7 separate regions of the Homo sapiens genome follow, and regions 1, 2, 3, 5, 6 and 7 are each linked to region 4. Evidence: promoter capture Hi-C in 16 types of primary human blood cells and fetal thymus (Javierre and others, 2016). All regions are on one chromosome and are shown on one strand. The core of a region is centred on a gene start or on the middle of the fragment in contact, and the rest is flanking DNA. Distances in the headings are between cores, read along the strand shown. Region 1 holds the start of TRV-AAC1-5 (tRNA-Val (anticodon AAC) 1-5). Region 2 holds the start of TRS-CGA3-1 (tRNA-Ser (anticodon CGA) 3-1). Region 3 has its middle 17 kb from the start of TRQ-CTG6-1. Region 4 holds the start of H2BC6-AS1 (H2BC6 antisense RNA 1). Region 5 has its middle 4.1 kb from the start of TRQ-TTG3-3. Region 6 holds the start of OR2B2 (olfactory receptor family 2 subfamily B member 2). Region 7 overlaps LOC105375001 (a long non-coding RNA gene).

Evidence for each region. The method cuts DNA at HindIII sites, captures the fragments that hold promoters and counts their contacts. A CHiCAGO score of 5 or more calls a contact.
Region 1: a fragment that was not itself captured here is called in contact with the fragment with the promoter of H2BC6-AS1 in region 4 in 8 of 17 cell types (monocytes, total CD4 T cells, activated CD4 T cells and 5 more); the score reaches 13.0 in monocytes.
Region 2: a contact is called between a fragment that was not itself captured here and the fragment with the promoter of H2BC6-AS1 in region 4, in 1 of 17 cell types (neutrophils). The highest score is 5.0, in neutrophils.
Region 3: a fragment that was not itself captured here is called in contact with the fragment with the promoter of H2BC6-AS1 in region 4 in 2 of 17 cell types (M2 macrophages and M0 macrophages); the score reaches 9.2 in M2 macrophages.
Region 5: a fragment that was not itself captured here is called in contact with the fragment with the promoter of H2BC6-AS1 in region 4 in 3 of 17 cell types (naive B cells, activated CD4 T cells and fetal thymus); the score reaches 7.3 in naive B cells.
Region 6: the fragment with the promoter of OR2B2 here is called in contact with the fragment with the promoter of H2BC6-AS1 in region 4 in 1 of 17 cell types (neutrophils); the score reaches 7.3 in neutrophils.
Region 7: a fragment that was not itself captured here is called in contact with the fragment with the promoter of H2BC6-AS1 in region 4 in 1 of 17 cell types (naive CD8 T cells); the score reaches 6.2 in naive CD8 T cells.

Annotation. Positions count from the first base shown.
Region 1 is chr6:27,752,378-27,755,598 of GRCh38, reverse strand. It overlaps TRV-AAC1-5 (tRNA-Val (anticodon AAC) 1-5), which reads left to right and starts at 2,127; the gene lies at 2,127-2,199. RefSeq lists a silencer at 2,024-2,163 and enhancers at 2,614-2,703, 2,874-2,933. The HindIII fragment of the contact is 1,415 bases long and covers 700-2,114 here.
Region 2 is chr6:27,670,679-27,673,926 of GRCh38, reverse strand. TRS-CGA3-1 (tRNA-Ser (anticodon CGA) 3-1) reads left to right here and starts at 1,396; the gene lies at 1,396-1,477. The HindIII fragment of the contact is 3,512 bases long and covers 43-3,248 here.
Region 3 is chr6:27,772,628-27,775,865 of GRCh38, reverse strand. No RefSeq gene overlaps it. Among named protein-coding and RNA genes, the nearest start is that of TRQ-CTG6-1, 17 kb to the left of the region's middle. The HindIII fragment of the contact is 4,434 bases long and covers 1-3,238 here.
Region 4 is chr6:26,171,269-26,174,805 of GRCh38, reverse strand. It overlaps H2BC6-AS1 (H2BC6 antisense RNA 1), which reads left to right and starts at 2,033. Exons shown (of 3, transcript NR_186648.1): 1 at 2,033-2,771. It also overlaps a transcript of H2BC5 not described here. RefSeq lists an enhancer at 2,067-2,959. The HindIII fragment of the contact is 22,011 bases long and covers 1-3,537 here.
Region 5 is chr6:27,798,278-27,801,718 of GRCh38, reverse strand. No RefSeq gene overlaps it. Among named protein-coding and RNA genes, the nearest start is that of TRQ-TTG3-3, 4.1 kb to the right of the region's middle. The HindIII fragment of the contact is 618 bases long and covers 1,581-2,198 here.
Region 6 is chr6:27,910,318-27,913,846 of GRCh38, reverse strand. OR2B2 (olfactory receptor family 2 subfamily B member 2) reads left to right here and starts at 1,451. Exons shown (of 1, transcript NM_033057.2): 1 at 1,451-2,662. The coding sequence starts at 1,528. The coding sequence ends at 2,601. The HindIII fragment of the contact is 2,345 bases long and covers 147-2,491 here.
Region 7 is chr6:27,474,146-27,477,799 of GRCh38, reverse strand. It overlaps LOC105375001 (a long non-coding RNA gene), which reads right to left. Exons shown (of 2, transcript XR_926664.4): 2 at 1,820-2,706. Among named protein-coding and RNA genes, the nearest start is that of TRS-AGA2-2, 2.8 kb to the left of the region's middle. The HindIII fragment of the contact is 2,741 bases long and covers 554-3,294 here.

The sequences.
Region 1 (3,221 bases), core at 158-2,657, 1.6 Mb before region 4:
ACAATCATTGCACATGCAACCTCAAACTCCTGGGCTCAAGTGATCTTCCTGATTTACTTCGTCTCCAGAGTAACTAGAACTACAGGTACACCACTATGTCCAGTTTAACAATATTTTTTATCTTTTTTCTTTCTTTTTTTCTTTAACAATATTTTTAATGATCATTGTTGCTGCTAATCTGGTCTTGATTTGTTAATTGGGAAATACAGTCTAATTTGTTAATTGGGAATTACAGTCTTTCTTTCAGTTGTTACCCACAGCATTCCAATTATTCATGATCCAGCTACTACCAGCTCACATGATCTCAAGGTGAGAAGGGGCTCTCTGTTCCTGGCACCCATGGAAGAAAGAATACTAAGTAGAGGAAAAAGTAAGCACAGACTTTCTCCAGACTGGTCTGGCAGCCCAACCACCACCTCTAAGCACAGAGAGTGTGTGGTGTTTATATGCAAAGTGAAGTTATAAGGAGGAATCTGGAAGAAGGCAGCTTGCTTCTAGGTGTGCAGTGAAAGTAGATAGAGGAAGACAGTGAAAAGGGAGAGAAGAACAAAGAAAAGAAAAAAATACACGAGCGTTTTATCCTCCTTTTCTAAATCAAATAGCATTGAACTGTCACATTCCAGAGAAATAATTATTTGTGACATAGAATCCAATCTTGTAACCTTGTACCTGTTCCCCAGTATATCTCATCCTGAAGCTTACCTGCTCTGTAACAAATGCTAATAGTCCCAAGAGCTCAGTCTTACAGGTCCGGGTTCCTAAAAGGGTCATTTTCTGGCACTAGAAAGATGAAGATCAGAACAAGTTGCATGGATAAGATAAGGACACTATGGTAGAATTTTTTTAAAAAAATCAAATCATCTGCTCTCTACTTCTCTATCTACTTGAGGTTTTCTTGCCTGGCATTTGCAAAGAAATTGGGGCTCATGGGTGAATACTTGGATTGCTAAAATGATAAAGTTTGGCTGTTGGTTTTAGTACACTAAAAGTACAAGGGCAAGAAACGTACCACCACTGTGAGAGTTTCTGGGAAGAAAGGGCAGCTTTGAGATTATAGAACCTGGGGCATCTGGAAAAACTGTATTTTTTTTTTCCTGTAGAAGAGACATGGGACCAAAGGCAAGTTTTACTGGTATTGTGGTTATCACATTTGCCCAATACAGTAAAGACCCTTGGTTTGAAACTCAGTAAGATTTATTATTATTATTATTTGAACAGAACTCTTTTGTTTTCTCTCCTGTCCTGGACTTGAAATCGGCTTATCCAAACCCTAGAGACGCTGACACCCCGCATGCTTTCCCCTCCCACCGTTCAGGGCGTTGCCAGCTCCTCCCTCCTGCATGGTCGGCTGGGTTCCACCAGCTCCGCTAGTGTTAACAGGAGGAAGTGTCCCCCTGGTCTGCATCTCCCTGGTGATCTGGTTCTCATCCGAATGCAGACAGCGGAAAGGGAGGGTTTTCCACAAGGAGGTCGGCAAGTATTTCTAGAAAGAAAAGAGCTTCTCTTCTAATTAGAGCACCAAAGACTACGCTACAGTCAGGTGAAGTCATTAGCCAGTTATTTATTATTTTTGTTATGGGAAGCATAATGTTCTACTTTTTATAGAATTCCTTCGAATTGAGTTATCATTGAAGCTACTAGTTGGTTACAACTAAACATTAAAATGTTTATATCTTATAAACATTATATAACATTATATATAATGTTATATAAACATTATATAACATTAAAACATTTATATCTATAAATTTGAAAACTAATCAGTATTTTTTAAAGTATAAAACAATGGGAAGAACATCTAAATACTAGAAATAGGTTTAAAAATTAGTTCATAGATTCATAGATGCATAAATCTTAACAAATTACCTTTCCCAAATTAATTCTATGCCTCTTTGTATAAGTAACTACTGGGAAATATAGTTTATTATACAAAAAAGTACAAACCGATTATTTATCAAATGTTCCTCAACTTAAATTAGGACATCGAGTTTTTATATTATAAATAGTAAATGTGAAAGTGTGTAATTCACCATAATCAAAAAAAAATCGGAGGTGGGGGTGGAGGGAAAGGGGGAGAATTCAGGACTAGTCTTTTAGGTCAAAAAGAAGAAGCTTTGTAACCGTTGGTTTCCGTAGTGTAGTGGTTATCACGTTCGCCTAACACGCGAAAGGTCCCCGGTTCGAAACCGGGCGGAAACAAAGAGAGTCGCTTTTTTTTCTATCGCTAATTCTGTTTTTGAGTATTTTCATTTGAACCAATAGAATCTTTGCTTTTTGCCGAGCACGTGAACCCTCAACTTCTGTACTCCTTCCGTCACCCAGCGACGTGGCGCTGAATCCCGCGTCACACCTTTCTCTACCCCACGCCGAACCCTCACCCTCATCCTCCTTTTCTGATCTCCGTCTGAGTGACCCCGGTGGTGTCAATCCCAATAGGCACCGGAGTCCCAGAACTCCACCCGCCTGCACCTCGCAGGTGAGACAGGCTTTCTTGGAATCCAGAGAGCAGCACTTGCGGGTTTTTCGTGGAGGGGGTTTCCTCGGGGATTTCTAAGGAAGAGCGCTTCGCTTTGAGCCCTTCGGGGAATTGGATTTGCTCTTTTTTTGCTGAAGCACAGAGAGGAAACACTTTTTTTTTTTTTTTTTTTTGAGACAGAGTTTCGCTGTTGTTGCCAGGCTGGAGTGCAGTGGCACGATCTCGGCTCACTGCAACCCCCGCCTCCCGGGTTCAAGCGATTCTCCTCCCTCAGCCTCCCGAGTAGGTGGGATTACCACCACGCTCCGCTAATTTTTGTATTTTTAGTAGAGATGGGGTTTCGCCATGTTGGCCAGGCTTGTCTCGAACTCCTGACCTCAGGTAACCCACCCGCTTCGGCCTCCCACAGTGCTGGGATTACAGGCGTGAGCCTCCGCGCCCGGCCAAAACAAACTTTTTGACAGCTCTTAAACTTTCACCATGGATTGTGCACTTGGACAAGGATATAAAAGTGTGTTTGAATTCGAACCAGTCCAAAGAAAGTCAGCATTTTCTCTTCTGTCCGGTTATCTATTTATTACCTCTCAGCAGCAAAATCACTTTTCCTTGCTCCATAACAATGGAACGGAGCTGGGCCCTTTAAATATTTTCTGTCGCAGTTTAGCTCAATATTAAATTTTGTCAATAGAGGGCGATGGAGAGACATTGCTGGAGGAAATAATCTCTTGGCGTTACTGTGCACAGT
Region 2 (3,248 bases), core at 549-3,048, 1.5 Mb before region 4:
ACATGTCTACACAAAACCTGCACATAAATGTTTATAGAAGCTTTATTCATAATTGCCAAAAGTTGGAAGTAACCAATATGTCTTTCAGTAGGTAAATGAATAAATATACTACGGTACCTCAGACAATGGAATATTATTCAGCCCTAAAAATAAATGAGTTATTAAAGCATGAAAAGACACGGAGGAATCTTAAATGCTTATTACTAAGTGGAAGACAACCAGGAAAATTGTTACCCTAAAGTCAATTGAAGAAAGTGTTGTAAGAAGGAGAATGTATTAATAGCTGCAGCTATCCCAAGTAAGGTGAGGACTGGGAAATGATTTTAGCCATGTGGAGATAATCGGCGACCTTGTCAAGGCATTATAGGATCACTGACAGTCCTTCAGAGGCTGGTAGGTGGATTAATGTGGTGATAGATGTGCGTGGAAGGTCTCTTCTGATTGTGAAGTAGGAAGTAAAGTCATCAATTGAACACAAGGATGGGAGAGGAGGTGTTGGAGCATTGGCATGAGAGATATGAAATAGTGACTTATTTTTTTTTTTTTTGAGACGGAGTCTCACTGTCTGTCACCCAGGCTGGAGGGCAGTGGCGCCATCTCAGCTCACTGCAACTCCGCCTCCCAGGTTCAAGTTATTCTCCTGCCTCAGCCTCCCGAGTAGCTGGGATTACAGGCGCGAGCCATCACATCTGGCTTTTTTTTTTTTTTTTTTTTAGTAGAGATGGGGTTTCGCCATGTTGGCCAGGCTGGTCTCGAACTCCTAACCTCAGGTGATCTCCCCCCCCGCCTCGGCCTCCAAAGTGCTAGGATTACAGGCTTGGACCACTGCATCCGGCTGAAACAGTGACTTAGAACAAGAGGATTGGGAGTGGACTAATCTAATCGCGTATGGTACAATTTGCCTGGTAGCCTTGAGCACCTACTTGACATTCATTGTCATGAATTTAAAGTGAGGTCTGTCAACTGATTGTTTTTCTTCCGCCATGTTTAGCTGCCCTGGTTGTGGCTTTGCCAAAGGAGTACAAAGTGAGAGAGGCAGGGAAATTGAGAGTGCAGCAAGAACGTGACTCTAACATGTGCTGGGTAAAGAGAGAAGAAAATTCATGAACTGGAGGGAGGAATAGGGAACAGACAACTGAGTCTCCGGGGATTTGTTCCAGCAACAAAAGCAGCCACTAAGCACCAAATAAGTTTCTGATGCATAGAGAGTCAGATAACAAGTAAAGATTAAGACACTATTATGTTTCCCAGGAACTTCTTATTGAAAGAGAGAGACAAATATATAAAAAGTGACAAATACAAACACGGAAGCATTAACCTGCCGTGGGAACATTAAAAAGCGAGAGAGTCAAAGAGCCTAACACGACTTCCTCTGAAACAAAAAGTGTCCTCGGAGCTGTGATGGCCGAGTGGTTAAGGTGTTGGACTCGAAATCCAATGGGGGTTCCCCGCGCAGGTTCAAATCCTGCTCACAGCGTCGCCATTTTCTGGTTAGATTTCCAATTTGCTACTTTCATCAGTTAGCTTTCATTAGTTCACTAGGATAGAAAGTTGTGAGTGCTATCGCTGTGGCTTTTACAGCGCGCGCACACTTGTGGAAATGTACATCAAGAAATATGTACATTTGAAGGCCGGGCGCGGTGGCTCACTTCTGCAATCCCCGCACTTGGGGAGGCCGAAACGGGCGGATCATTTGAGGTCAGGGGTTGGAGACCAGCCTGACCAACACGGTGAAACCCCGTCTCTACTAAAAATGCAGAAAAATTAGCCGGGCTTACTGGCGCACGCCTGTAGTCCCAGCTACTTGGGAGCCTGAGGCAGAAGAATCGCTTGAACCTGGGAGGCGAAGGTTGCAGTGAGCCGAGATCGCGCCACTGCACTCCAGCCTGGGAGACAGAGTGAGACTGTCTCAAAGAAAAAGAAGATACTAGTTGTCTTACATCTAATCATAATGGCAAATACAAGACAGGTGCAACGTTGAAAATATTAGGAATACAATTTCCCTTTTAGATTACTAGTATGACAGCTTTCTTAAAGCATTCTCAGGCAGCAATCTTTACTTTGTATTTGTCCTGATCTCACAGCTGGTGGGAGCCAAAAAAATTAGGATGATAACAATCCGTCATATGCATTAGTTGCTCTTCAAAGCGTTTTGTATAAACGAGGAAACAGAGGCACAAAGAGGATATATTTTGGCTTCTGACCACCTTCTTAAACCCATACGAAACTTCGTCTCCTTATAAGCACTTCTTCATTTTCCACTATTTTGCTTACTTTGAACAGCTATGCAAGTAAAGTTCCTTTTTCTAAGTTTCTATGTCAAATGTGATTCTGAAAAATGTGTACTTTCCCGAATTCTTGACTCCTCGTTAAATTTGAGTGTCTTCATCTGCTACTTTGAGTTGTAATACCATTTTACAATAAACTTCTCCCTAGTGAGTGGGTACTTGTTTTTTCCTTTTGGACGAGAAGAGGGAAAAACTATGATTAATACTTCCAGAAATGTATTACAAAGCACTTTACTTTTGGCAATATCTAAATTTAAAATAATACATATTGCTCATTACTGATCCACATACATCATTAGTGCCCAATGTAAGTATATTAAAAATGAAATTCAGGCCAGACACGGTGGCTCACGCCTGTAATCCCAGCACTTCGGGAGGCCGAGGCGGGCGAGTCACCTGAAGTAGGAAGTTCGAGATCAGCCTGACCAACACGGAGAAACCCCGTCTTTACTAAAAATACAAAATTAGCCGTGCATGGAGGCACATGCCTGTAATCCCAGCTACTTGGGAGGCTGAGGCATGAGAATCACTTGAACCCAGGAGGCGGTGGTTGCAGTGAGCCGAGATCGCGCCGCTGCACTCCAGCCTGGGCAACAAGAGCGAAACTCCGACTCAAAAAAAAAAAAAAAAAAAAAAAAAATCAAATTCAGGTAAAAGCAGCTGATTGGCCTGAAAAATAAGTAACAAAAAGCTAAAAAGTAGGCACACACATGAAAGAGAAGATAGAAACACCAATATTGCTTTGAAGGAAAGACATTCATCTTAGCTCATATATAATGTTTCAAAGATGAAAAATGGTCATTATTTTCAATAAAGACACTTTATGTGAATGTCTATTATGCCAACAAACCACAAAAGAAAACATGCTTTCCTTGAATCAGTGTGGTTTGGGGTTTTAATCCCTACCTAAATAAAGAAACAATCTTTTTTTTTTCTGGCCCCAATAGTATAATACAATAT
Region 3 (3,238 bases), core at 724-3,223, 1.6 Mb before region 4:
TTAGCATATAATTAGGTCTTGGGTAGGGCATGGGTCAAATCCAGCGCCATGTTGGACCCAGACGGTTTCAGACAGCTTAGCCACCATCCTGTTTGTTAGGGTCTTATCAGCCCAAGTTCTTTCTTGTCCTTGTAGCTAATTTTAACAGCTCCTTTTTTGCTGTTATGTGAAATTACTGCTTGATGTTTCTCCTATGACTACCCAGCATTCCTATCAAATAGAGATGAGATTTATCACCTTCCTTGTTCCCCTGGCCCTCTCACTCCACTAGCATGAACCCTTCAGTGACTCAGGTGCCTGATCTCAGCCTCTTTCAGAAAATAATCTGAGTGGAAAAACATTTTTATAGCCGCAAGCCAGGACTCCTCCCCTCCCCTCCACCAAATGCCCTATTTTCCTCTCAAAGGGGTTTAGGTCTGTGTTGCATGGGCCTTCTCTGTGGGGAAAAGCAAGAGAGATCAGATTGTTACTGTGTCTGTGTAGAAAGAAGTAGACATAGGAGACTCCATTTTGTTCTGTACTAAGACAAATTCTTCTGCCTTGAGATTCTGTTAATCTATGAACTTACTCCCAACCCCGTGCTCTCTGAAACATGTGCTGTGTCAAACTCAGGGTTAAATGGATTAAGGGCGGTGCAAGATGTGCTTTGTTAAACAGATGCTTGAAGGCAGCATGCTCGTTAAGCGTCATCACCACTCCCTAATCTCAAGTACCCAGGGACACAAACACTGCAGAAGGCCGCAGGGACCTCTGCCTAGGAAAGCCAGGTATTGTCCAAGGTTTCTCCCCATGTGATAGTCTGAAATATGGCCTCTTGGGAAGGGAAAGACCTGACCGTCCCCCAGCCCGACACCTGTAAAGGGTCTGTGCTGAGGAGGATTAGTATAAGAGGAAGGCATGCCTCTTGCAGTTGAGACAAGAGCAAGGCATCTGTCTCCTGTCCGTCCCTGGGCAATGGAATGTCTCGGTATAAAACCCGATTGTACGTTCCATCTACTGAGATAGGGAAAAACCGCGTTAGGGCTGGAGGTGGGACATGCGGGCAGCAATACTGCTTTGTAAAGCATTGAGATGTTTATGTGTATGCATATCTAAAAGCACAGCACTTAATCCTTTACCTTGTCTATGATGCAAAGACCTTTGTTCACGTGTTTGTCTGCTGACCCTCTCCCCACAATTGTCTTGTGACCCTGACACATCCCCCTCTCGGAGAAACACCCACGAATGATCAATAAATACTAAGGGAACTCAGAGGCTGGTGGGATCCTCCATATGCTGAACGCTGGTCCCCCGGGTCCCCTTATTTCTTTCTCTATACTTTGTCTCTGTGTCTTTTTCTTTTCCAAGTCTCTCGTTCCACCTTACGAGAAACACCCACAGGTGTGGAGGGGCAACCCACCCCTTCATTCTCTCTTCACTAGAAAACCAGTGAGGAAGTGGAAGGAGGAGACTGAGCACCTGCCATGTAATATGCAGTGGTGTACCTCACTTAATGTGCAGCAGGAAGAGCCGCAGACAAAACCCCTCAGACACCGAGTTAAAGAAGGAAGGGGTTTATTTGGCCTGGAGCATCGGCAAGACTTCTGTCTCAAGAACCGAGCTCCCTGAGTGAGCAATTCCTGTCCCTTTTAAGGGCTCACAACTCTAAGGGGGTCCACATGAGAGGGTCGTGATCAACTGAGCAAGCAGGGGGTGCATGTTTGGGGGCTGCATGCACCAGTAATCAGAACGGAACAGAACAGGACAGGGATTTTTACAATGCTTTTCCATACAATGTCTGGAAACTATAGATAACATAACCAGTGTTAGGTCAGGGGTTAATCTTTAACTACCAGGCCCAGGGCGTGGCGCCGGGCTGTCTGCCTGTGGATTTCATTTCTGCTTTTTAGTTTTTACTTCTTCTTTCTTTGGAGGCAGAAATCGGGCATAAGACAATATGAGGGGTGGTCTCCTCCCTCATTCGCTCACCTCATTAAAAGTGATGAGGCTGTCTTTGTCTTACAGATGAGAAGACTGAGGCATAAATCTGTGACCCTTCACCTGTATGTTTCAATTTCATGTCTATGTTTATCAGGATGCTTTTTTGTTTGTTTGTTTTTGCAGAGGGTGGGGAACAGGGTCTTGCTCTGTCACCTAGGCTGCAGTGCAGTGGCACGATCATAACTCACTATAACCTTGACCTCCTGGGCTTAAGTGATCCTCCTACCTCAGCCTCCCCAGTAACTAGGACTACAGGCCCACACCACCACACCTGGCTAATTTTTTTATTATTATTTTTTGTGGAGATGAGGTCTCGCTAGGCATGAGCCACGAGACCTATTCCTCGTTTTTGAAAGGTAAAGGATCCGACACTTTAGAAGAAAGGTAAAGGAGGAATTTTTAGAGAAACCAGTTCAAGAGAAGCTGTTAATGGTACTTACAGGAAACATAAGTGTTTGAACGACAAGGCTGGAAAAGAATTAATGCACCATGGGACAATTATCATAACGAGAGTGGTAAGGAGATGGAATGGAGAGTTGGGGGGAAGGAGAAATCAGCAGTTTCCCAGATCTGGAATTACAACAGGGCCCCAAGTTCCCATCCCACCATCAGGAAAGATACCTGGTGAGAACCTCAAATAGACCTGCTGATGTTTCTTCAACACTGCCTTGCACGTCCCTTTCCTCGTGTTCATGTGGGGACCTGCAGGTCATTAAACTACAAATCAGTCTTACCTGCTTCATGAGGAGCTTTTTCCCAAGAGACATTTAGCAAAGAGCTTGGGCGATATCCTTAGCGCTGTAGTGGTGGACAGAGCTTTCCTCCGAGCAGTCTCATGGGCAGAGCTTTCCTCCAAGCAGTCGGAGAGCTTTCCTAAGCTCCTAACAGCTCCTAAAGGAGCTGTTAAAATTAGCTACAAGGACAAGGAAGAGCTTGGGCTGATAAGACCCTAATAAACAGGATGAGGGCTAAGCTGTCTGAAACCGTCTGAGTCCAACGTGGCGCTGGATTTGACCCATGCCCTACCCAAGACCTAATTATATGCTAATTACCAAACGAAATTACACACCTTCAGAGAGCTTTCCTCTGACTGCTTGGAGGAAGCTCTGCCCACCACAAATGCAACGAGTAACCCTGGCACCCAGTTGCGTTTCCGCGGCTTGCTAAAGGCCTGCTCTCCAAGGCTGCCAGGCCTTGCTGAGTTTGCACAAAGAAACGCGGCCCGCGGTAGCAGGCGTCCGGCTTCCTGGGGCGCGCC
Region 4 (3,537 bases), core at 784-3,283:
AAAAAGGGAGATATAAAGAATGACAAGAGAATGCTGTGTAACTTTTACAAAAAATTAAACTCAGTGGAAAATAATTTTCAAGAAAAAGAAGAAAATAGACAAGCTGACTAAACAAATTATGATTATGAAAATAAGGTAGGCAGTTAAAAAATATTTTCTACGTCCTTCCACCCAAATGCTGCCAAGTCCGGTCAGATATTCCAAGTTTTAGTGAATTTATGAGGAATAGATTATCTCTTTTTTTTTTTTTTTTTTTCTGAGATGGTTCTCGCTACGTTGCCTAGGCTGTAGCGCAGAAGCTATACACAGGCATGATGGCAGCACACTACAGTCTCCAATTCCTGGGCTCAAGTGGTCCTTCTGCTTCACCTCCTGAGTAGCTGGGACTACAGGGACGTGCCACCTCACTTGGCATGATACCTATTTCACAGAATCTGTTACTATAGAAAAACAGCTCTCCTACTCACTTTTTTCTTGTAAAATTGTATAACATTATTAGCAAAACTGGAGAATACAAATTTTAAAAAGGAAGGAAGAGAGAAAGAAGAAAAAAACAAAATTATAGTTTTGTCTCACTAATGAACATTCATTTTTGTTTTTTAGAAAAAAATGCCTATTATGAGAAAAAATGGAAACCAGGAGAAATTGCAGAGACCATGTTATTTAAATAAATAGCTGATTATATAGGGTTTATTCTAAGAATAGAAGGAAGTTTAGTATTCTAAATCTGCCAGTTTAAGAAATTAATAAAGGAAGGCCCAGAGCAGTGGCTCACGCCTGTATTCCTAGCACTTTAGGAGGCTGAGGCAGGTGGATCACTTAATGTCAGGAGTTCAAGGCCAGCCTGGCCAATGGCGGCCTATCTTCTTCTGATAATACAAAACTTAGCCAGATGTGGTGGCACGCACCTGTAGTCCCTGTTACTTGGGAAAGTGAGGCAGAAGAATCGCTTGAACCTGGGAGGTAGAGGTTGTAATGAGCTTAGATCAGGGCACTGCACTCCAGCCTGGGAGACAGAGTGAGATTCCATCTCAAAATAAAAACTAAAATAATAAAAAATAAAATAAAATAAAATAAAATAAATAAAATAAAAAAGAGATTAATAAAGAAAAAACATGATCATCTCCAAAGATACTGCGAAAGCATTTAACAAAATATAACACTCTTTAATCATAAACACTTAACAGACTACAATGAGAAGAGAACTTCATAAGGAGGAGCTACAGCGAGTATAACACTTAATGGTGCCGTTTTGGAAGGATTCCCATAGAGGCGGAAGGAAGACAAGTGTGGTGAGAAAGTACTCCTATTCAACACGGCATCACAGGGTTTGGCCAATACCATGAGATAGGAACAGGCAGTCAGAAGAGCAAGGATTCAATAGGAAAAGATGATTATCTTTGAAAATAACATAATTGTCAAGGTAAAAGTTCACAAGAATCTATAAACAATTAGATCAAATAAGAATTGGAATTAGTGGGCATAGGCCAGGCGTTGTGGCTCACGCCTGTAATCCCAGCACTTTGGGAGGCCGAGGCGGGCGGATCACGAGGTCAGGAGATCGAGACCATCCTGGCTAACACGGTGAAACCCCGTCTCTACTAAAAAATACAAAAAAACTTAGTCGGGCGTGGTGACTGTAGTCCCAGCTACTCGGGAAGCTGAGGCAGGAGAATGGCGTGAACCCGGGAGGCAGAGCTTGCAGTGAGCCGAGACTGCGCCACTGTACTCCAGCCTGGGGGACAGAGCGAGACTCCGTTTCAAAAAAAAAAAAAAAAAAATTAAAGTCATATGAAGATTAATATGTAACATCTTCTTCGACTTAAATGTTCATTTTTTTCCTTCTGACTTTAGAAGAAATTAAAATATTTTCATGAGCCTCCAAAAGAACTGCGGACCCTAGACACCGTGCCTGCTGTTTAATGGAGTACGGCACTGCGTGTACCGGAAGATGATTTTTTTAAAAAAAAACTCAATTAGGAAATAATTATTCGCACACATTCATATACATACATACATACACTGAATCCTCACACGAAGAGCCCTACAGGCGTGAGAACAGTAAGGGAGATGCAAGAAAGGTCTCCTTGGAGTTGGGAGGCGTATTTACAGCTACTAGAGAAGGGGGAAGTGCCAGCTCCCCGAGAAGAAAGCAGGAGGATGCTGAGAGACTAAAGCTGAAATTTTCTGCCTGCTTCCTCACTCTTTTCGTTGGTTTCAGCCGTCTGAAAAACCCTTGTGAGAGGAGCAAAAAGGTCAAGGGAAGATTGTTGCCTTGCTCTCAGTCTTCAAAATTTTCGATCCTCCGTTTTTTTTGTTTTGAGACGCAGTCTCGCTCTGTCGCCTAGGCTGGAGTGCAGCGGCGCGATCTCGGTCACTGCAACCTCCGCCTCCCTGGTTCTAGCGATTCTTCTGCCTCAGCCTCCTGAGTAGCTGGGACTACAGGCGCGTGCCACCACACCCGGCTAATTTTTTTGTACTTTTGATAGGGACGGGGTCTCACGGTGTTAGCCAGGATGGTCTCTATCTCCTGAACTCGTGATCCGCCCGCCTCGGCCTCCCAAAGTGCTGGGATTACAGGCGTGAGCCACCGCGCCCGGCCGGTCCTCTGTTTTTAAACTGTAAAGGACTCCAGCGGATTGTTCGAAGTCTCCGATATCCCGCGATCTGGTGGCCGCAGAAGAAAGAGGCCGAGTCGGCGGGGACTGGGAACCACCAGTTAGCGGCCTACGGGCAACCTCCCGGACGCGCGCGCCGGGCCGACGTTAAACGTACGTGACGCCCTATGCGGGAGCCGGATGGGCGTAACGGGGCGGCGGCGTAACGTGTGGCTCTGTGGTTAGGGCACGGAGGGGCGTGGCCGGACGGCCCTATGAGGGGGCCGGCGTTTTTGGCGAGGGTTGATGGGATGACCCTATGAGGGAGCCTGCGTGGAGGGGCACGACCGGCCCCAAGACTCCTTTTCATGGCCGCATAGCCGCACCGGGAGTAGGATGACCGCTGTTATTTTTCAGGACCTCTCATCTTCGGTTTGAAATTCTTTGCTTTTTTCCGGCTTTGTGTGGCTATTTAGTATTAGCATTTTAGGGCAGTTTCATTTCCTTTAAAGTAAAACTCTCCAAAGTGGTCTCCGGACCAGCAGCATCAGCATCACCTGCATAATTTAGAAGTACAAATTATCAGGTCCTACCTCAGATCTAATGCATCAGAAAAGTTTTGTGACTGCTTCAAAACATTGTTTCCCTTAATTCAGATGCTGGAGGAGACCTTTCAAATGGCAGCTTAGCATAAGCTAACCAGTTTTTAACTTCAGGTTCATTACCAAAGCCACATCAGTGCTTAGGCCTTATCCACTCAGACCTCCTTGATGCTGGAAAGTAAAGTGAAAATAGGTAGATAGATGTCTAGAAAGGGGAGGTCTTAGAAGAAAGGTTTGGATCAACAATGAAGGCAGAATTTACAATTCTCCGCAGATTTTATTAATTATAACTTTTTTTTTCAGACGTCCTGCCATCTTCTCATTCAGACTTTTCTTAG
Region 5 (3,441 bases), core at 640-3,139, 1.6 Mb before region 4:
TGGCCAGGCTGATCTCAAACTCCTGAGCTCAGGTGATCCGCCCACCTCGGCCTCCCAAAGTGCTGGGAGTACAGGCGTGAGCCATTGCACCAGGCCTTTTCAAGCAGAGATTTTATTGGGATGCTTGCATCTGAAGGATATATTCACAATAACAAAACTTATAAGAAAATAGTAAAGCTAGAACTCATTGTGTTAATTATAGTGGAAGATGTGCCTGGACTTAGAACTGACCACAAATTGTTAATCAGAAATTGCTTTAGTAAGTAACAAATCAAAGTAAATGAAACAGCCTGGTTACTAAGGAATAGTTTCATAATTTTGAATGGGATTAAAACTTGTCTCTCTTACTGTTGGTGGAATCCTGTCTTAAACAGCCACACAGGCAATCTAGCATGAACTAATAGTCCTTCCTTGGTTGGTTTTGGGCTGCAACTCATTGATAATCATCATGCTTAGTTTGCCTTTGTTCCAATTCCAAGCAGGCCAACCACTTTCCCATGTACATATTGTAACCACCCAAGGGGTTAACCTTGCCCGCTGCCTAGACAGAGCTGATTCATCAAGACAGGGGAATTGCAATAGAGAAAGAGTAATTCACACAGAGCTGGCTGTGCAGGAGACTGGAGTTTTATTACTCAAATCAGTTTCCCTGGGCATTTGGGGAGCAGAGTTTTTAAGGATAACTTGGTGGATGGGGGGAAGCCAGTGAGCCAGGAGTGCTGAATGGTCAGAGATTAAATCATAGGGAGTTGAAGCTCTCTTCTTGTGCTGAGTCAGTTCCTGGGTGGGGGCTACAGGATCAGATGAGCCAGTTAATAGATCTGGGTGGTGCTATCTGACCCATCTTGAGTGCAGCGTCTGCAAAATATCTCAAGCACTGATCTTAGGAGCAGTTAGGGAGGGTTAGAATCTTGTAGCCTCCAGCTGCCATAATTTTTAATCTTGTGGCTAATGTTAGTCCTACAAAGGCAATCCAGTCCCAAGGCAAGAAGGAGGTCTGCTTTGGGAAAGGGCTGTTACCATCTTTGTTTAAACTATAAACTACAAACTAAGTTTCTCCCTAAATTAGTTCAGCCTACACCCAGGAATGAACAAGGATGGCTTGGAGGTTAGAAGCAAGACGGAGTTGGTTAAATTCCATCTCTTTCTCTGTCTCAGTCATAATTTTGCAAAGGTGGCTTCAATATCTGTCATTAAATTGCTGGAATGTTACTTTATTTTGCATTTGACTATTTTTTTTTTAAATTTTTATTTGAGATGAAGTCTCGTTCTGTCGCCCAGGCTGGAGTGCAGTGGCACGATCTCTGCTCACCACAACCTCCACCTCCCAGGTTCAAGCGATTCTCCTGCCTCAGCCTCCCGAGTAGCTGGGATTACAGGCGCGTGCCACTGCACCTGGCTAATTTTTTGTGTTTTTAGTAGAGATGGAGTTTCACCATGTTGGCCAGGCTGGTCTTGAACTCCTGACCTCAGTTAATCTGCCCGCCTCGGCCTCCCAAAGTGCTAGGATTACAGGCGTGAGCCACTGTGCCTGGCCCGATTATTTAATATCTGAGAAACATAAGAGGCTAAGAAAAGCTTTGAAAGAATGTCATCTATTTTATTTATGCTTATATTATGGCCAGGTTATATTTCTTTTTCTTTTTTTTTTTTTTTTGAGATGGAGTCTCACTCTGTTGCCCTGGAGTGCAATGGTGTGATCTCAGCTCACTGCAACCTCCACCTCCCGGGTTCAAGGGATTCTCCTACTTCAGCCTCCCAAGTAGCTGGGATTACAGGCACGTACCACCACGCCCGCCTAATTTTTTAAAAGTTTTTAGTAGAGACAGGGTTTCTCCATGTTGGCCAGGCTGGTCCCGAACTCCTGACCTCAGGTGATCCACCTGCCTCGGCCTCCCACATTGATGGGGTTACAGGCATGAGTCACCGTGCCTGGCCAACCAGGTTATATTTCTATAGCCTCTCCAAATTCTGGGAACGAACCCCACTTGAGGCCTACAACACTAAATTCCCACATCCCCAAAAGATGTACTCAAATATTGGAGCAGTTAGCACAGTCCAGACTATCAAATGTGTTGACCTGAAATCTATTTTCTGTATGGACAAGAAGACTACAGACTGAGAATTTTAATAGAAGATATTGCCATTCATAAGAATTGTGCTGCAGGAAGGAAAAGAGACGAGAAAACCTACAAGCTTAACCAAGAAAATGGATCTAACCTTCCATTCAGTGGCCCCCAGATCTTCCTGTTCCTTTCCATGCAATGAACAAACATAGGAGCTAGAACCTGGTTCCTTGGTGTAAAACAAACAAACAAACAAAAAAACAACAAAAAAAAAACAGCCAAAACTGAGGATCTAAGGTCATCTTGACCTTTGTGAGATCACCACAAAGAAACAAATGCCATTTTGTCCACTGTGTGATCACAAACAAGTCAGTGACACTCATTATACCAGTTTCCTTAACAGCAAAATAGGGGTGAAAATCAGCCTCATTTTATCAGGAAGTTGTATGATTGAATAAGACAATGAATAAGATATATGTAGGACAGGCATGGTGGCTCATGCCCGTAATCCCAGTACTTTGGGAGGCCGAGGTGGGCAGATCACTTGAGGTCAGGAGTTCAGGACCAGCCTGGCCAACATGGTGAAACCTCGTCTCTACTAAAATTACAAAAATTAGCTGGGCATGGTGGCACATGCCTGTAATCCCAGCTACTCAGAAGGCTAAGGCAGGAGAATCACTTGAACCCGGGAGGCAGAGGTTGCAGTGAGCCAAGACTGCGCCACTGAACTCCAGCCTGGGAAACAGAGCGAGGCTCTGTCTCAAACAAACAAACAAACAAACAAAAAAGACATATGTAACAGGGAAATAATTATCACCATGCATTAAGAGGAAAAGAATAATATAGAAATTACTGCAAATTATATTTATAAGTGAGGAAAATCACTCAGAGCCAGTAATTTTACCTCTATATGACCCCATCAGCCAGCTTAAAGGAAATTAACTTACTTAACCAAAAAAACATTTATTGAGCACTTAATATATGAGAGACAATATATTAGCATTGAGAATACACGCTGAAAATAGCCTGCTAAAATTCCTGTTCTTATGGTACTTTGAGGTGGGATTAAATTCCATAACATGTCATCACCTTGATAAGTGGTTTAGATAAAAATACAGCAGGAAAGGGGATAGGGAGCTGGAGATTGCATTTTTAAGGAGGGCATACAAATGAGGTCTCATTGAACTGTCATTGGCATAAACTGGTGAGAGAGTATATTGCTACCTGGGGGAAGCTGTTTGGGGCAGAAGGAACTATGAGTGCAAAGTACCAGAGGCAGGCTCTGCTTAGCATGTTCTGGGAACAGCAGGTTAGGCCATAGTGGTGGGAGCAAAGACAGCCATGGGGTGGGTAAGAAGTTTTGAGCTTCATCGTT
Region 6 (3,529 bases), core at 202-2,701, 1.7 Mb before region 4:
TGAGTTTTTTTTTAATCATCAGTGAATGTCATGATGTTTTAAGAAAGTTTACAAATTTGTGTTAGGCCACGTTCAAAGCCATCCTGGGCTGCGTTCAAAGCCATCCTGGGCTGCATGCAGCCCGTGGGCCTCAGGTTGGACAAGCTTGATTTAAAGCATCCACCTGCCTGTTAGTCACTGAGTAGCCATCTCGGTTATCAGATCGTCAGAACACAGAGGGGTGAGTACACTAGAATAAGGTGTTTTGAAGAGAAAAAAAGAGAGGGACACCACATTCACATAACATGTATTACAATAAATGGGGGTCTGGAGCTGTTATACTTGCTGCATTTTATTAATTATTGTTCTTAATCTCTTACTGTGCCTAATTTATAAATTAAACGTTATAGTTGTGTATGTATTAAAAAACATAGTATATATAGGGTTTGGTACTACCCACAGTTTCAGGTTTCTATCCACTGGTGGTCTTGGAATGTATCCCCCATGGATAAAGGGGGAACCACTGTATCATCTTCATTTTACAAATGAGAATTGTGGAGATCAAAGGGTTAGAAGCATTCCAATATAATGAATGTAACTAATTAGAGAGGGTAGGGATATGAGACCAGCCTGTCACCTTCAAATATCATATTACTAAGGAATCTATACAAATTCTATGAGCTTCTAGAACGAAAAGGATATGTCTCCTTAAATTGTGTCTGATAACTTACTAGATACTGTCTACATGGCTTTTTTGAGGGAAGGGGAATAATGGGAGGTGGCTTTAACTAATGTTAACTGATTTCTACAATCAGGGAATCTCGCTGGCCTTGAAGAGAAATTAGAATGAATTCAAATGACAGGAAACTGTATCTACATCTACCTCACAGTAGATATCTAGGTAGGAAGAATGAGAAAAATACATTTACAAACAGTAAAATATCAAAGGATACATTATGTGAATTTGGAAACTGAAAATATGGCTTAAGATTTTTGAAATTAGGCTGGGCACAGTGGCTCACGCCTGTAATCCCAGCACTTTGGGAGGCTGAGGTGGGCAGATCACCTGAGGTTGGGGTTTGAGACCAACCTGACCAACGTGGAGAAACCCCATCGCTACTAAAAATACAAAATTAGTCGGGGTGGTGGCACATGCCTGTGATCCCACCTACTGGGGAGGCTGAGGCAGGAGAATTGCTTGAACCTGGGAGGCGGAGGTTGCGGTGAGCCGAGATGGCGCCATTGCACTCCAGCCTGGGCAAAAGAGTGAAACTCTGCCTCAAAAAAAAAAAAAAAAAAAAAAAAAAAGATTCTTGAAATTCGATTCAATTTGCTAATATGCTGTTACAGATATATAAACACTTTTTAAATACTTGGATGGATAAATATTTATATTTTTATCAATACTTTTTTCACATTATTAATTGGATCAGTCTGTAATTTTATGTAAATTGATAGCAAAATGATTATAGCTGACAAAATCAGGAAGTGTGTTGTTAACTTCCTGACTTCTTATATTTCAGAGAACGAAGAGTTGAACCATTTAACATGAATTGGGTAAATAAGAGTGTCCCACAGGAGTTCATTCTGTTAGTTTTCTCAGATCAACCATGGCTAGAGATTCCACCCTTTGTGATGTTTCTGTTTTCCTATATCTTGACAATCTTTGGCAATCTGACAATAATTCTTGTGTCACATGTGGATTTCAAACTCCACACCCCTATGTACTTTTTTCTTAGCAATCTCTCACTCCTGGACCTTTGCTATACCACAAGTACAGTTCCACAAATGCTGGTAAACATATGCAACACCAGGAAAGTAATCAGTTATGGTGGCTGTGTGGCCCAGCTTTTCATTTTCCTGGCCTTGGGTTCCACAGAATGTCTTCTCCTGGCCGTCATGTGCTTTGATAGGTTTGTAGCTATTTGTCGGCCTCTCCATTACTCAATTATCATGCACCAGAGGCTCTGCTTCCAGTTGGCAGCTGCATCCTGGATTAGTGGCTTTAGCAATTCAGTATTACAGTCCACCTGGACACTTAAGATGCCACTGTGTGGTCACAAAGAAGTGGATCACTTCTTCTGTGAAGTCCCTGCTCTGCTCAAGTTGTCCTGTGTTGACACAACAGCAAATGAGGCTGAACTATTCTTCATCAGTGTGCTATTCCTTCTAATACCCGTGACACTCATCCTTATATCGTATGCTTTTATTGTCCAAGCAGTGTTGAGAATCCAGTCTGCTGAAGGTCAACGAAAGGCATTTGGGACATGTGGCTCCCATCTAATTGTGGTGTCACTTTTTTATGGTACAGCTATCTCCATGTACCTGCAACCACCTTCACCCAGCTCCAAAGACCGGGGAAAGATGGTTTCTCTCTTCTGTGGAATCATTGCACCCATGCTGAATCCCCTTATATATACACTTAGGAACAAAGAGGTAAAGGAAGCCTTTAAAAGGTTGGTTGCAAAGAGTCTTCTTAATCAAGAAATAAGAAATATGCAAATGATAAGCTTTGCTAAAGACACAGTGCTTACTTACCTTACTAACTTCTCCGCAAGTTGTCCTATTTTTGTCATTACTATAGAAAACTATTGTAATCTCCCTCAAAGAAAATTTCCTTGACAAAAAGCTATATTTGTTTCTGTTGCCTAAACATTTTCATTGAACAAGCCCCCAGAATTGGCCTTCCAATGCACCAAAAACTGTAATCACAACATTTTCAAGGGTTGTCACACTTTACATCAATGTTTGTACAATTCAGTGTAAACTAGACCTTTCTGATCCAGAAATCATCTCTTCAGTAATACACACACGCACACACACATACATACATACACACACACACATAGAAACAAAGATGTAAAGGGAGCTTTTGAGAGGTTGCTTGCAAGGGTGTTAATAAAAAAAAAAGGAATTCTCAAATTATAGGCCTTTTAAAGACTTCAATTTTACATAGCTTATAATTTAATTCTCTCCAAATTGCTTTATTATTACTATTCTTAGAAAAACTATTATAGTGATCTTCAAATAAAATGTCGACAGAGAACTATATCTGTTTTCTACTGCCTAAATATATTCATTGCACAAGTCTTAAGAACTGATCTTTTATGAACTCTCAAAATAGCATAGCCTTGAAATCTTTAAGGTCTCAAACATCTTAGCACTAGTCTGTATACATCGGGAAGAGACTTAGACTTCTCTGAAACCAGAATAAAAGCCAGAAACAAAACATTTTGATACATATACACATGTCCTCATCCTTACACACACACACACACACACACACACACACACAAACTCCATGGCACAAATTATTTTTCAGACAATTGTAGATCTAACAGAAGTATCCAAAACCTTGTCTTAATTTTCTCTATAAGTTTAACAGCCCTAGCTTAAATTTTAACACTATTCGCACATCAACACAATACTAAAATCCACAACAATTCTGCACTCCCCAGTTTTACTTAGATCTTCTGTTGTTTCTGTACTTCCCACTTCTAAGTTGAAGTGTCCTATTCCATCTATCAAATAAAGTTGTAGCTACATTTTA
Region 7 (3,654 bases), core at 675-3,174, 1.3 Mb before region 4:
GGAGAAACGAAGGAAGACCGGGAAGGGAAGAGACAGAGATTTTCTGAGGACCCTTGTTAGAGCTCAGAAAATGATACCCCAAAGTATGGCTCTTGGAAGTGCTGAGTACTTTGAACTAAAGAAGCAACCTCAGAATCAAAGTCTCTCTGACCTTCCGCAGCCCCACTGCCTCCTGATCCTCTTTCTTTCTTGAATGGCAGGGAGGGGCTTTCACTGAAGTTTCCCTTATTTGACTTACGGAGGTTCCTCCAGAAGGAAAGAGATTGTCATGAACCCTCTCCTGGAATCTGTATTAACCAGAGAAGATTAACTCAGATCCCAGGAGAGAAAACTAAAGGTCTCCATGCCCGGGACATCTCGCCCAGCCAGACTTCAATTCTTTTCTTCACCACCTATTCTGAGGGCTGCTACTTGAGAGACTTTATCTGTATAATAAGACAAGCTTTGTTCCCAGAGCTGTTCCTGCCCTGACCCTCACATTGCTTCTCGCCACCACCTTCCAGGAGCCTTCAAGCTCCTATTTCTTTATGTAGCTCCAAGTCCTATTTAAGCTTCAACCATCTGCCCCTTCTTTGAGTCTCACTTACACTTTCTGGGACCTCTGTGCATATGTGCATAATAAATGTGTATGCCTTTTCTTCTGTTAATCTGTCTACTAGCAGCTTTATTTCTCAGACTCAAATATCCAACCTCCAGAAGGGAGAAAAAAGATTCTCTCACCCCTACAGGCTCAAAAGAAGACTAAAAGAAATTCACTAGTTTTATGGAAGACCATAATTTGAGGGAATAGACATGAAGCAGTTTGATGGGGTAGCCAGGTGTCCATACAAATATAAGTTGTGCTATAGATTGTTGTTCATAGTTAATGCATATCACATCCTTTTTATTTGGTGGACATATTTTTATCAAGCACATCTTTATTTTTTTTTGCTGAAATCATTTGCAACTCCAGCTTTGAATAAAGTTAGATACCAAAGAAATATCAAATCTCTTTTAAGAAATTTAAAAAAATTTTAGAATCAGGGTCTTACTCTATCACACAGACTGGAGTGCAGTGGCACCATCATAGCTTACTGTAACCTGAACTCTTGGGCACAAGCCATCCTTCTGCCTCAGCCTCCAGAGTAGCTAGGAATAGAAGCATGCACCACCACTCCTAGCTAACTTTTTTTTCTTTGTAGAAAAAAAATGTATTTTCTTTGTATTCCTTGTATTTGAAGAAAAACTGACAATTTGCCTTTTTAAGTATAGAAGGACATTTGATTTGTTTCCAATTTAGGGCTAAAGTAGAAACTGGACTGGTTTTTGTTTCCTGCAACTAAGTCCTGACTCTCTACCTTTACTGAGATCCATTCTACTATGTTTTTGTTTTCAGCCCAGTAAAACAAGTAAGATTGCAGCTGTGGCCAGTCCCTAGTCATTGTTACAGTAAAACAAGCCAAAGTTGATTAGTAATTTCAGTTCAAATATATCACTAGTTGCTTTGTATTTTGCTGAGGTGTTTTTTTAAGCACAAAAGGTTTCTGAGGGCTGGGTTCAGTGGCTTATGGACTGTAACCCCAGCATTTAGGAAGGCCGAGGTGGGAGGATTGCTTGAGGTCAGGAGTTGGAGGCCACTTTGTGCAACATATAGAGAAGTCACTGAAGACAAAAATTATATCTTTCTGTGTCCTCAACATGTATTGAAAGCCTCATTTGTATAAGGTATGGCTAAAAGTTTTCCAAATCATGAGTGCTGGTTCCTTTGTGCTGAATAGTTCCTTCCTCAGTTTATTTCTTTCCTCATGCATTTCACCATAAGCAGCAATAACTAACCAGGTTGCACATTCCACATTTTACTTGGAAGTCTTCTTAACTAAATATTCAAGTTCATCATGTACAAATTCTGTTTTCCACCCAAATATAGAATACAATTCAGCCAAGGCTCTCCCACTTTATAACAAGATAACCATTCCTTCAGTTTCTAATTGCATGTCATTAATTTCCTTCTGAGACCTTACCATAAGCATATTTAACATTCTTATATTTTAAATTTAATAGAACATTTTGGGAACAGTTTTAGGTTTATAGAAAAATTGAGCAGAAAGTAGAGTTTCAGTATACTCCTTCCTTCTCCCCTCCTCCCCCAGTTTCTCTATTATTAACATCTTGCACTAGTGTGGTACATCTGTTAAAATTGATGAGCCAATGTTGATAAATTATTATTAACTAAAGACCATAGTTTATATTACGGTTCACTCTTTGTGCTGTATATTCTATGGGTTTTAACAAATGTATAACAACATGTATTCGCCATTACAATATCATACAGAATAGTTTCACTGCCTTAAAAATCCACTGAACGTCACTTATTCTTCCCTCTTAAAATCCACTGAACGTCACTTATTCTTCCCTCTTAAAATCCACTGAATGTCACTTATTCTTCCCTTTTTCCCTCCCCCTAAGCCCCTGGCAACCACCAATCTTTGCTGTTTCCATAGATTAGCCTTTTCAGGAATGTTATGTAGATGGAATTATACAGTATATAGCCTTTTCCAGATTGACTTCTTTCACTCACCAATACGCACTTAATATTCTTCTGTTCTTCCTTTTTGGTAGCTTGATAGCTCATTTCTTTTCCTTACTGAATGTTCCATTGTCTGAATGTACCATAGTTTATGTATTCATTCATGTACTGAAGGACATCTGGCTGCTTCCAAGTTTTGCCTATCATGAACAAAGCTGCTATAAACATTCTTGGGCACGTTTTGTGTGGACATACATTTTCAACTCCTTTGCATAAATACCAAGGAACACAATTACTAGATCATATGGTAAGAGTATGTTTAGTTTTGTAAGAAATTGTCAAACTGTCCTCCAACGTAACTCTAATATTTTGCATTCCCACCAGCAATGAATGAAAGTTCCTGTGCTCCACATCCTTGTCAGCATTTGGTATTGTCAGGGTTCTGGATTTTGGCCATTTTGACAGGTGTATAGTGGCATCCCATTGTTTTAATTTGCATTTCACTGAGGACATATGTGGAGCATCTTTTCATATGCTTATTTTCCATCTGCATATCTTCTTTGGTGACATCTGTTAGGGTCTTTGGCCTATTTTTTTAATCGGTTTGTCTCCTTATTGTTGAGTTTTAAGAGTTCTTATATATTTTGGATATCAGTTCTTTATCAGATATGTACTTTGCAAGTATTTTCTCCCAGTCTGTGACTTGTCTTTTCATTCTCTTGAACATTTTTTTTTAAACCAATGTTCTCTTCATGGCAATATATGCATTCTCTAAGATGACCGAAGCTTTCTCTATCATGTTCCCTTGACTGTAATTGTTTTTCATACACTCTGTTAGGATTTCCAGGTTTAATGTTTGTCAGCCAACAGTCTGAGAGACTTGACCTTGGCCCCTTATCCAAATGCTGGGGATGCACGCCAGCATAATAAAATGCAAGTGCCATGTCTTAAATATAAAAACCTACCGATTTGTTGGATTCTTTTTTTCTGCCAAGGACACAGTGACAGACTGGCCATGGGCTACACTTGCAGCTATGTGCTCGCTGACACAGGCATATAAAATGCTTTACTAAGTGGCAAAACATGGGAATATTATCTCCGGGTTTCCTTAAGCATTAGAAAAACATGTTGGGGCCGGGCGCAGTGGC